Regions from separate parts of the Homo sapiens genome. Here region 1 is linked to region 2. Evidence: promoter capture Hi-C in human tissues and cell types (Jung and others, 2019). All regions are on one chromosome and are shown on one strand. Each heading gives the region's core, a stretch centred on a gene start or on the middle of the fragment in contact. The rest is flanking DNA. Distances are from core to core; before and after follow the strand shown. Region 1 overlaps SF1 (splicing factor 1). Region 2 holds the start of BATF2 (basic leucine zipper ATF-like transcription factor 2).

Evidence for each region. The method cuts DNA at HindIII sites, captures the fragments that hold promoters and counts their contacts. A contact is called where the count stands out against the background at its distance.
Region 1: a fragment that was not itself captured here is called in contact with the fragment with the promoter of BATF2 in region 2 in 1 of the 25 tissues and cell types used here (dorsolateral prefrontal cortex).

Annotation. Positions count from the first base shown.
Region 1 is chr11:64,770,412-64,776,397 of GRCh38, reverse strand. It overlaps SF1 (splicing factor 1), which reads left to right. Exons shown (of 13, transcript NM_004630.4): 3 at 2,893-2,968. Among named protein-coding and RNA genes, the nearest start is that of SF1, 5.1 kb to the left of the region's middle. RefSeq lists an enhancer at 3,573-3,662. The HindIII fragment of the contact is 3,858 bases long and covers 1-3,179 here.
Region 2 is chr11:64,994,795-65,000,804 of GRCh38, reverse strand. It overlaps BATF2 (basic leucine zipper ATF-like transcription factor 2), which reads left to right and starts at 3,834. Exons shown (of 3, transcript NM_138456.4): 1 at 3,834-3,929. The coding sequence starts at 3,891. RefSeq lists a cis regulatory region at 1,552-2,690 and an enhancer at 3,935-4,435. The HindIII fragment of the contact is 29,477 bases long and covers 1-6,010 here.

The DNA.
Region 1 (5,986 bases), core at 1-2,500, 220 kb after region 2:
TTGAGATGAGATACTTTCACGACTTTGGTATCATCTGTCAGTTTTTGCCCAGTGAGTTCTGCATTTGCAGCTCCTTGTTTTGGTCTGTTCGTAACTGCAGTGTTCTCCATGAGTATCAGGAAGGTAGGGTTTCACTTAGGAGTAAGAACAGTCCCCAGTCCAGCAGCCACCCTTTTCAGCTGCTGTTCATTGCCAGTTGATGAGGTGAGTGTCATCTGCCTCTCTGGACAGGCCCCAGTGGAGAACACCGCAGGTACTGTAAACCAAGTACTTTTCACAGCGTGGCCTTTCACCATAATTTTATATTTCTCCCCCTAAAATGTGGTCTTTTACTTTTTATAGGTACTTTCTGAAAAAAAAAAAATGACAAAAAGTGGTTCTGAAAGTGTGTTTACAATTTACCCCTTTTTATTTTCTTGAATTTAAGAGTTTAACCTTCCCTTCAACATCTTTTCTGGTTTGGTCTATGGAGAGCTGTCTTAAAATGAAGGCTCTTGTATTTACTTTTAAAGAACTCTGCTGGGAAAGGGATATTGCATGGATATGGAATGAAGTGCTAGGATAAAAAGGTTTTATTTGCTGGGAGGTTTTGAGAATTAATGACTATCCACAGTGGAATTGAAATTAACCTCAAAATTGCTTTTTTGGAAAAAAAAGTTTTTAATGCAAGTTTTATCTTTATATACCTGTGCAGCTGTCTCAAAAAAGTTCACTTTATAAACATTTCCTACTAACCAAATAAACATCCCCTTTGGAGGAAATTCGGGCAAAGACCTCCTAAACCTACGAGGCTGTGGCCTTCACAACCAAAAAGCTTCAAGGCCAGCATGTTACTACTTTTGAGGGTCTTAATTTCCTGTTTTTTAGACTGCTGAGAATTTTGAGGCGTTGGAATTGTCTGTCTCCTTTCACAGTACTACTAATACTTGTTCTTTCCCCTACTGTTCCTGTCTACTCCCACCCATTCCATTGTGTCTCATATTAGACTAGTCTGGGTCTTTACATCCTTGTGAAATGCCCCTAGTGGAGTGATATCCCAAGAACACAAGCATACTTAGAAGATGGGAAGAGCACAAATTCTTTATATCTCCATTTCTGTTTTTGTGGAGGGCTAGTTAGTTCACTGGGCCCTAAGGACTATTTATAGCTATAATCAAAATAGAATCAAAGGAGAGGTGTAGTTCTCCACAGAAGAGAATGACCCTTTTTATTTAGATCAGGCCCCACATCTCCATAGTCAGCTAGGAAGACTCACCTTCTCCCCTCAGTGAAGGTGACTTTCACCTCGAGTTGTTGAGCTTAATACTCAACTGCAAAGTCAGAACTTTTTAGGCATAAAGGAGCTTGGGGAACCATGTGTCTTACTACTTTTCTGTCTCCCACGGTACATACTGCTTTGTCCAGGATGCCCTCAATATCTTTTTTTTTTTTTTTTTGAGAGACTGAGTCTTGCTGTGTCGCCAGGCTGGAGTGTAGTGGTGCGATCTCGGCTCACTGCAACCTGCGTCTCCCGGGTTCAAGTGATTCTCCCACCTCAGCCTCCCAAGTAGCTGGGACTACAGGCGCACGCCACCATGCCCAGCTAATTTTTTTTGTAGTTTTAGTAGAGACGGGGTTTCACCATGTTGGCCAGGATGGTCTCGATCTCTTGTCCTCATGATCTGCCTGCCTTGGCCTCCCAAAGTACTGGGATTACAGGTGTGAGCCACTGTGCCCGGCCAGTATTTTCTTTCGATAATAATGGGTTTTCATTTCTTCAGGGTTTTAGTGTGTGGGTGTGGTATAGCCCTGTGGATGTATTTAAAGTTAGAAGGAATCTTTGGTTAGACACGCATTAATCCTATCTTGGAGCCAGCTCAGTTTTAACCCAACCTAGTAACATTTGCCCTTATTGGAGATGCCTGCTGAAAATTCTCAGATGCTGCGAAGGTAAGGAACAGGTGGTTATTCCGCATGTTGAAGAAAGCTGCTCTGGCTCTGCAGTTCCCATTATCTTGGAAAATCAGCTGTGTAACATTTCCCTGGCGTCACTGGCAACTTTTGTGAAACCCTCATCTCTCTTTTTCATGCACAGCCTCATTGGTCAAGGCCCGAGGGCCAAGTACATTGTCCTTGAACACACATTCCATTCTTCTACACGCCTGCTCCCCATATGAACAGTGAGCCTGAAAACAAATTCTTAGCACTTTATGGTTACTGGTTTATTAAGATATGTGGTTTGTCATTTAATATTTGAATAAATATTTCATATAATTGAATAAGAGCTGCAGGTATTGGGAGACCCTTACTAGTACAGGTCTGGTTGTACAGAAAGAGTATGTACAAATTTCTATAAGGTGTTGAATTTTGTTATTAAATGTCTTATTTAAGGAATTTTAAATGTATTAATGAAAATGATCTTTGCTCAATTGGTATTTTTCCTTGTCCCATGTTAATTGGGTCTCATTTTGGGCTATGTTTAACATTTAATGAAGAAAAAACTCAATTCTTGCCCTCAAGTAATTTGATGGGAGTCGGGTATTGGTGACGTAACATGGTTTATGGTTCTGGGTACCAATGGTAAGCAAGCCTTGGTGGGGAGGAAGAGGTGAAACACCTCCTAATAATTGCTTGGATGTTAGCCTTAGTGAACAGTCTTTATTGCTAACCCCTCTTCCAACAAACTGTTTGCTTCCTTAAGTGATAACCATTTTGAAGTGAAAAAAACCTATAGATGTAAAAGGACTCCTGCCGATAGGTGGTTGGGGGTTTTTGCTTCAATGTGTTCACTGATCAGTCGTCCCTTTCAAAGTCTCCGAGTTCTTCATGCTTGTTGTTGAGATTTGAGATGTTTATTGGTAACATTGTCTTTTTTCCATCCTTTTTTTTCTTTCCTAACCTGGTTTCTTCCAGTGCAACTGCAGATAGAAGACCTGACTCGTAAACTGCGCACAGGAGACCTGGGCATCCCCCCTAACCCTGAGGACAGGTTGGGAAACAGTTTTAACCAGCTGACAGTAACGCTTTTACCTTTTTCTCAATACGTTTTACTGGTGGCAACATATTGTGTCAGTTCAATAAAATCATAGTATGACGACTGTACCCTGACCACTTTGGGGATTAAGGTTTAATTAGAAATATGTATGGTCAGTCAACAGTTAGAAAATTGGAATAAAACTTAAAAATGTTGGGAGAATAAAAAGTTACAGGAAAATGGACAACTGGTTTCCAATTGGTAAGCATGTAGATCTTAACCTGATTTACCCACCCTTAGGGGACAGTGAGGTGGCCCGTTAACCTGCCTTTTCAGTACCTGCTTTGGCCAAAAGCCCAGGGCATAGAGTTTTTCTCACAGGTACACAGTGCAGGGACTAAAAATATTTTTGAGCATCACTGAACTTGAGCAAGCCAGGAGCTCTGGTCAGCTCATTGCTGCAGTCTTCCTGCTCATGGTTTTGAGATGGTTTCAAAATCAGATGAGATTTCTAACCAACTTCTTTCACTGCCAGTTAACTTTCAGCCTTGGCCATTGCCTTGGGGGTGTTGGGAGGGGCCAGAATATTCTCACCTATTTTGGGAAGGCATGCAACCAACCCTAAATTACTTTTTTTTTTTCCTTAAAGGGAGCGTGGGCCTCAAACAGCTGTGGTCATGTCATTTCAGTTTGCAGTTTCTCTCACCTCAGAAAAATAAATTGTGTGGGGGAGATGAACTTTTTTAAACTGGAATTTTATTAGCTGATTGAACAGCTAAAATTGGTCATTTAATTAGAAGGGCAGTAAGTCTCTCCCTCTCACTGAATTTTCTCTTAGTACATACAGAATAGTTGAAAAGACTTTGCTTTAAAAAGTAGTGTTTTTGGTTTTTGTTACCCAGTTAATAGCTTATTAAATCAGGAAGATGATGTAATGGCTTTAGAAGTCACTCACTCATGCATCTTTCTTCCGCCCTTTGCCAGGAAACATTAACTTCCTTGTTTCTCCATATTGACTCTTTAATTTGACTTACTACATTTGCTATATTTTACCTATAGATAGATTTTGGTTGTAGGGTTGTGTTGTGTTTCGTTTCTTTTTGAAGATTTTTTTTTTTTTTAAATTTACATTGTAGGTCATAGACCACAACTGTTTAGTGCCTTTTTGGCCTTTTTCCCTTTAATAATATGTCTACAGGTCACCAGTCAATTCCTCCAAAGGTTGAATTTTTAACAAACCTTCTTTGCTTCCTGGATAACTGGGATTAGAATTTAGTTGATCTAGCCGATGCCTGTTGGAGGTGAAGAAGTCGGGCCAGTCTAACCTCTAGAATACTAGCTTTTGCCTTTCACTTCTGCAATTTGGGAGGAGGTTAAACTGTTGTGAGGCCTTCACATGGCCAATTGGGTGCTGGTAAGACTTGTTTTTGTAACTAGCTAAGAATGCTTAATTCTAGACAGCTGTGGGGTGGGAATTAGAAATGTCAAGCATGTTAGAAATAAAACCAGAGCAGGGTTTTTCCTCCCTTCTATTCAGTTTTGAAAGAGGCCCTAATGCCTGATTGGTTTTGCTTTTGAGCCCAGGTTGGAGGGAAATGCATGGGTTTTCTTAATTAAGATAATTTCTTAAAAAGGTGTTATATCACTTAAGCCACTTTATTGTTATTTTGATGCTGCTTAACTTGCACAGTAAAAACATGTTTAAAACTTTTCTTGTAGACTTAAATGTATAAGATGGTAGTCTAATGAGCTGGGGTATGTTTGCTTTTGTTCACTCTTAATGGATTGTGCTAACAGTTTATACAAATGCTAGAAACGGAGGTGTCATTTAGCCGTCATTAGCCATGAACAAACCTGACCTTTTATTCCATCGTGTGTGTAACGTGGTGTGACATGGTTCCCTTTAGGCTGAAGACAGTGGGAGCAGCCGAGTTCAGTCCTTGCTCTCCAACTAGGCAAGGTTCTCTCAACTAAACCAAGGGTATAGGAGTCTTGATTACTTTCAGTATGTTTTTTTAATAACCTGATCCACATGGTCTCTTCCCTTCTTGCAGCTGCTACTAAATTTTCATTCAGAATATCAAGCTATGGTCCTTTTTGTAATCTTAACTCAAAATTCTAGGAGTGTAACCTCTCTTTTTTATTACCGCAAAATCCAGCTGTGGTAAACTGACCATTTTATCATTACATTTTTTTACTTGTAGCAACAGCATTTTACTCCTTAAAAAAATGAGAGAGAGAAAATCTGCTTTCTGGACTTGTAAACTCTGGTGGAGAATCATAGGTTTTCCCCTTGCTGTTTGCAGGTTCAGACCCTAGACAAGTATGACCAAATCTGCATTTGCAGCCTCTCGCAGAAGCTGCTTTAGCACTTTAACGTTTTTCTCTACCCAGACTCCCCAACCTCGAACAGCCAGAAAACAGGTTGTCTCCTGGGCCTTGGACACAGCCAGCCAGGCCATTGAAGGAAAAGCAAAGACGAAGCGAACCATCTCTCTCCATTGTGGGGGCCAAGTAGCTGCAGTAGCCTTCAGTCCCAGTTGCATTGGGTTAAAGAGCTCATACATACTATGTGTTAGGGGTACAGAAGCTTTTCCTCATAGGGCATGAGCTCTCCAAGAGTTAACCTTTTGCCTAAACTTGGGGTTTCTGTGGTTCATAAAGTTGGGATATGTATTTTTTTTCAAATGGAAGAAAATCCGTATTTGGCAAGAAGACTCCAGGGGATGATACTGTCCTTGCCACTTACAGTCCAAAGATTTTCCCCAAAGAATAGACATTTTTTCCTCTCATCACTTCTAGATGCAAAATCTTTTATTTTTTTCCTTTCTCACACACACCCCAGACCCCTAACGTTAAGCCAGCTTCCATCTCCCCATTCCACACGATCTTGAGTAGCACACGTTATGGTCGGTTCCTCCGAAGAGTGTTGTATTAGGGTCTGAGAGGCAGAGGGGCTGGGAAAGACTTGTTATAGTCCGTGTGGGAATGAGAGAAGTCGGTGCAGAATAGTAAACGGGAGTCTGTTTCCCA
Region 2 (6,010 bases), core at 2,585-5,084:
CTGTGCACTGTTCTAAGCCCTTTACATAAATTACTTAAATCCTTCTATTATTATCCCCATTGGCCAGGCACGGTGGCTCACGCCTATAATCCCAGCACTTTGGGAGGCCAAGGCTGGCGGATCACCTAAGGTTGAGACCAGCCAGGCCAACATGGTGAAACCCCGTCTCTACTAAAAATGCAAAAATTAGCTGGGCATGGTGGCACACACCTGTAATCCCAGCTACTTGGGAGGCTGAGGCAGGAGAATCACTTGAACCTGGGAGGCGGAGGTTGCAGTGAGCCGAGATCGCACCACCGCACTCCAGCCTGGGAGACAGAGCAAGACTCTGTCTCAAAACAAAAAACAAAAAACAGGCCGCGTGCAATGGCTCACGCCTGTAATCCCAGCACTTTGGGAGGCTGAGGCTGGCAGATCACTTGAGGTCAGGAGTTCGAGATCAGCCTGGCCAACATGGTGAAACCCCATCTCTACTAAAAATACAAAAAATTAGGTGGGTGTGGTGGCGTACACCTGTAATTCCAGCTACTTGGGAGGCTGAGGCAGGTGAATCACTGGAACCCTGGAGACAGAGGTTGCAGTGAGCCAAGATTGTGCCACTGTACTCTAGCCTGGGTGACAGAGTGGGACTCCGTCTCAAAAAAAAAAAAAAAAAGGGACAGGGCTTCAGGGCATTCTGGCTTCTCCCAAAACAGTGGTGTGACTTTCTCTTCCCTATAATTCAGTTTATTCATTGGTGAAATGATGAAGTTGGTTGGGGGGAGCCCACCAGGAACCCAGGGCAGGTCCTATGGGAATGAGTGAAAAGTTTCTTTCCTCAGGAAAGTTTTGGGGTTCCTGGGTGGCAAGCTGCCTGCTGGACTTTAATTAATTAATTCATTAATTGAGCATCTATTACGTGAAGGCAGTGTTTGAAGCACTGGGGATCCTTCAAAGAACCAGTCCTGCCATGTAGGAGCTCATTGGTAGCTGTGGTATTTGGGAGGCCTCCAACCCTCCACCCACTGGGGCTGCTGGCTCTGGACTAATGGACCAGGCCTTTCCAAGCAGAGTGTGGAGCAGGACTGAGGCCTAGAAGAGAGAGGTTGTGTTCTCCCTGCAGCTCTGCCCCTCCCGTGGAGTGACCTTGCCCCTCTGGGCATTAGTTTCCTCACCCTCTTTTATGAACTGAAAGTTTGTGTTCCCCCCCCAAACTCACACACTGAAGTGCCAACCCTTGGTAAGATGGTATTTGGAGGTGGGGCCTTCAGGAGGTAATTAGGCTTAGATAAGGTTGTGAGGGTGGGACCCTACAATGGGATGAGTGTCTTTATAAGAAGGCAGAGAGACCGTGTGAGAATACGGCAAGAGTGCCACCATCTTCCAGCCAGGAAGAGGCCTTGCCAGGAGCCAAACCTACCAGCACCTTGCTCTTGGATTTCTCAGCCCTCAGAACTGCGAGAAATAAAAGGCTGTCATTAAGCCACTCAGTTTCTGGTATTGCATTATAGCAGCCTGAGCTGACTGAGACACCGTCTAAGGCGAGGTCAGATTGGATGGTCCCACCAGCCTGGGAGAAGTCTCCCACAGCCATTCCTAGTTAAACATTACCCACCCTACCTCCCTCCCTCCCTGCCACTCCCTCTCCCAGCTGCCTCCTCAGGGAGCCATAAACGCTGCCTTCTTTGGTCTTCTCCCAGGGCTGTGGTGTTCTGGGAAGAGCTACACCTGCTGTCTCACCTCTGCCAGAAGCCAGGGTCTGGAGAAGAAAGACTGGGGGTCTGGGGCAGGGGCTGGGATCTGGAGTGGGACACTCAGGCCTAGCCCCTCCACACACACACACACACACACAAGCACACACGGGTGTTTCTTCGTAGTCACATCATGCACAAGGTGCCTGCAGATCCTCCCAGGGGAGCTCATGGGCTGGCTTAATGAGCCCTTCAGGTGCCTGCCTCAGGCAAGACGCCCCAGCCTTCCTGGTTTCCAGGAAACAATAATTCAGAGAAACAGGGATGGCCTCACTGCGTGGGGCATCCCACTTCCGCCTCTGCTCCCAGGCCCCTCAGAAGCTAGGAGGGCAAGGCCCAGCTCTTATGCCCAATCTCACCCACCCAGGCATTTTAAATTAGGAGCCTGCATTAATAATCTTAGAATCCAGAATATGACACCACAAATTTCAGGAGGGGGAATCCTTGCCACATAGTACTTTACAATATCCCAAGAGCTTTCTTCTCATCTCATTCTTTCCCATCTTCAAAACAACTGTCAAATAGGTATCATTTCTTTGTGATCACCAGCATATCTTTGAAGACACTGAGGCTCCAGGTGATAAACTGGGTGAGTGGAGTGCCAGGATGGAGAGTCAAGTCTTTTGTCTCTGAAACCCAGACTTGTTTTATGCCTGGTTCTAGGGATAGCAGGGGACTGCACTCTCCACACCTCTGCCCATAACAGGCATCACTAATCGATCATGGTGTGGCAGACATTGCTAATCAACTGCAGTACTCTTTTTTACTAAGCTCAGAGGTGTCCATGAACTCTTTAAAACAACATTCCAGCCACCATCACCTATCAGAAGATCATATCTGTATTTGCCATTCTTGTGATACCACATCATCAGCCATGAGCCCTCAGGTCTCAGGTACAACTCCAAGATGCTCTAGTCACCAGACCATAGGACTCTACATACTGCATGCATGCTGTTCTTGGACAGGAATTACTGGCCCCTCTGGCCCCCAAACAGATGCCCCATCCAAGTGTCCCTCTTAGAGATACAACAAGCATGCAGGTATGCCCGGGGCTTCAGGGTTTGCTAGGTCTTTATTTTTTAATTTTTAATTAATTAATTTTTTTGAAACAAGGTCTTGCTCTATTGCCCAGGCTGGAGTGCAGTGGCAAGATTATAGCTCACTGCAGCCTTGAACTCCTGGGCTCAAGTGATCCTCTCATCTCAGCCTCCTGAGTAACTGGGAATACAGGTGTGTGCCACCATGCCCAGTTATTTTTTTTATTTTTAATATAGATAAGGTCTTGCTATGTTGCCCAGGCTGGTCTCAAACTCCTGAGCTCAAGTAATCCTCCTGCCTTGGCCTCCCAGAGTACTTGGATTACAGGCATGAACCACTGCATCTGGCCTAACAAAATTGTTTTTATCCCCACTTTACAGATTTGGAAACAGAAACACAGATGAAATTACGAACCCAAGTCACATAGCTTGGAAGCTGGGCTCCTAACCACTGGACATCAATCTTTCCACTGCTTCATGGTCTGTTGTATGAAAACAGTAATGTATCCATCTGTTCTATCCAACAGCCATTGCTTAATTTTGCAGACATGCTTCCATAGTGGTCTCAGAAGGTTTGGGGGTGGTTGTATTATCTGGCTTAGTTCCTGCAATGAGCCTGGGAGTGGGTAGTTGTACCATCCTCCAGATGAGAAAACTAGGGCTCAGAGAAGGAGAGTCACTTTCTGAAAGTTGGACAGCTCCAATGTGTGCTGTGATCCAGAGTTCCCCCAATTCCAGAGCTCAAGGGCTCTCTCTACCCCACATGAGCATCGGTCCCCACTGGCTTCTTCTCTCATCTCAGTCCCTGGCCGCCTGTCCTCCCTCCCCTAGAACACCCTCCTCATACCTGGCCTTTGGTCTTCCCTCCTCTCCACCCTCCACCATCCTCTTTCCAGAGAAGGGGCCCAACCGGAAGGCCAGTTCATGTTAGGAAATTCTAGCCACGTGAGCAAGCCTGAGCCAGGGATTCTGAGCAGCTGGTGGCTTTAGGAGAAACTGAAACTTGGCCCTCTGGGGGCGGAGTGGCCACTGGGGATTTAAAGAGCTGCCACTTCCTTAGGCCTCCAGAGGGCACTGGGAAGTCACAGCTGCTGAGGGACCACTCTGCTCCCCCGCCTAAGCCATGCACCTCTGTGGGGGCAATGGGCTGCTGACCCAGACAGTGAGTACAGGGGATTGGGGATCGGGGATGAGAAGGGGAGCTGGGATCCCGTCCTCAGTGCCCAGGCAGTGAGGGCTGCAGTCGGGAGCTCCTAGTCCCAGCTCTATACTCTGAGCAGTGTGACAGAGGGCTCTGCATGCCCCTCTCTGGGTCTCACTTTCCTCCCCCGAAGTCGGGATTGGATTGGAATGAGTTGTTTCCAGCTCTCACATTGCAGATCCAGCCTTCGGTTTAGAACTTGGCCTCTGTGTACTTGCTCTCTCCTAACGTACCTGGTCCCCCCTCACTACACTCACAGCAGCCTTTCCTTCCTTCTCCAAATAACCCAGGCCGGCTCATGCCTGTAATCCCAGCCCCTTGGGAGTCTGAGGCCGGCAGATAACATGAGGTTAGGAGTTCAAGATCAGCCTGGCCAACATGGCGAAACCCCGTCTCTACTAGAAATACAAAAATTAGCCAGGTGTGGCAGGGCACGTCTGTAGTCTCAGCTACTCGAGAGGCTGAGGCAGGAAAGTTGCTTGAACCCGGGAGATGGAGGTTGCAGTAAGCTGAGCTCATGTCACTGCACTCCAGCCTGGGTGACAGAGAGAGACTCTGTCTCAATAAAATAAAATAGGCCGGGCTCAGTGGCTCACACCTGTAATCCCAGCACTTTGGGAGGCTGAGGCGGGCAGATCACCTGAGGTCAGGAGATCGAGACCATCCTGGCCAACATGGTGAAACCCCGTCTCTATTAAAAATAGAAAAATTAGCTGGGCGTGGTGGAGGCACATGCCTGTAATCCCAGCTTCTCAGGAGGCTGAGGCAGGAGAATCACTTGAACCTGGGAGGCGGAGGTCGCAGTGAGCCAAGATCACGCCACTGCACTCCAGCCTGGGCGACAGAGACTCTGTCTCAATAAAATAAAATAAAATAAAATAAAGTAAAATAATAAATAAATTCCCTGGGCCATGGTTTCCCTTGGAGGCTCTGCTTATCTCACAGGAGCCCCCTTCACTCACCGTGGGTCCTGTCTCAGCCTTTAGTTTCTTGGTGCCCCAGTGTCTACAGTGAGCCCGCTGTGGACATGGCCCAAGGGAGCATATGGAGCAGGAGCCTAGGAGCATTCAGAATCTGCAGCCAGGGCGGCCAGGGCCTTGCCTGAGGTCCTTACCCTCAAAACACATACCCCAGAGAGACTTGGGGGCGGGGGCTGGGCTGTGAGCTCTCCAACAGTCCCTCTTGCTCTGACTTTGCAGAGCTCTGGACATTTGGGTAAAATATTTTATCTAAGTTTCATTGATCCCAGGGTACAAGGTGGTCACAACCTTTGAGTCCACTCTTCCACCGGAATAAACCCTTCATTCATTCATCCTTCGCTACCACCCCACTACAATGTGAGCAATTTCAGGGCAGGGATTTGTGTGTATTTTGTTTGCTATCATGTCCCTCTAGCTTACTGCCTGGAACATAGTAGGTGCTTATACATGTTTGTTGAGTAAGTGAATATCTGCTTTGGGCTTGAGCTGGGCATGAGCACAGAGAACCACATCTGCCCTCATGGAGCTCACAGTTAGGAAAGTTCACACCTTGGTGTGGAAATCATGGCAATGAGAAGAATGGAAGCTGAGCTTTATGGCACGCCGGCTCTGGGCTGCCTGCCGCATGGGCTTTAACCCTCTGCTGTGGTGCTTCCATTGCAGGGATGGGGCGATTGGGTTCAAGAATATGGGGCTCGGCTGGGCACGGTGGCTCACACCTGTAATCCCAGCACTTTGGGAGGCCGAGGCTGGTGAATCACCTGAGGTCAGGAGTTCAAGACCAGTTTGAGATGAGCCTGGCCAACATGAGGAAACCCCATCTCTACTAAAAATACAAAAATTGGCCAGGAATGGTGGCAGGTGCCTGTAGTCCCAGCTACTTGGGAGGCCGAGGCAGGAGAATTGCTTGAACCCGGGAGTCAGAGTTTGCAGTGAGCCAAGATAGAGCCGCTGCACTACTCCAGCCTGGGCAACAGAGTGAGACTCTGTCTCAAAAAAAAAGGAAAAAAGAATGTGGGGTTTGAAGTTGGCTCTGTCTGAGTTTGAATCTCAGGCTTCCCA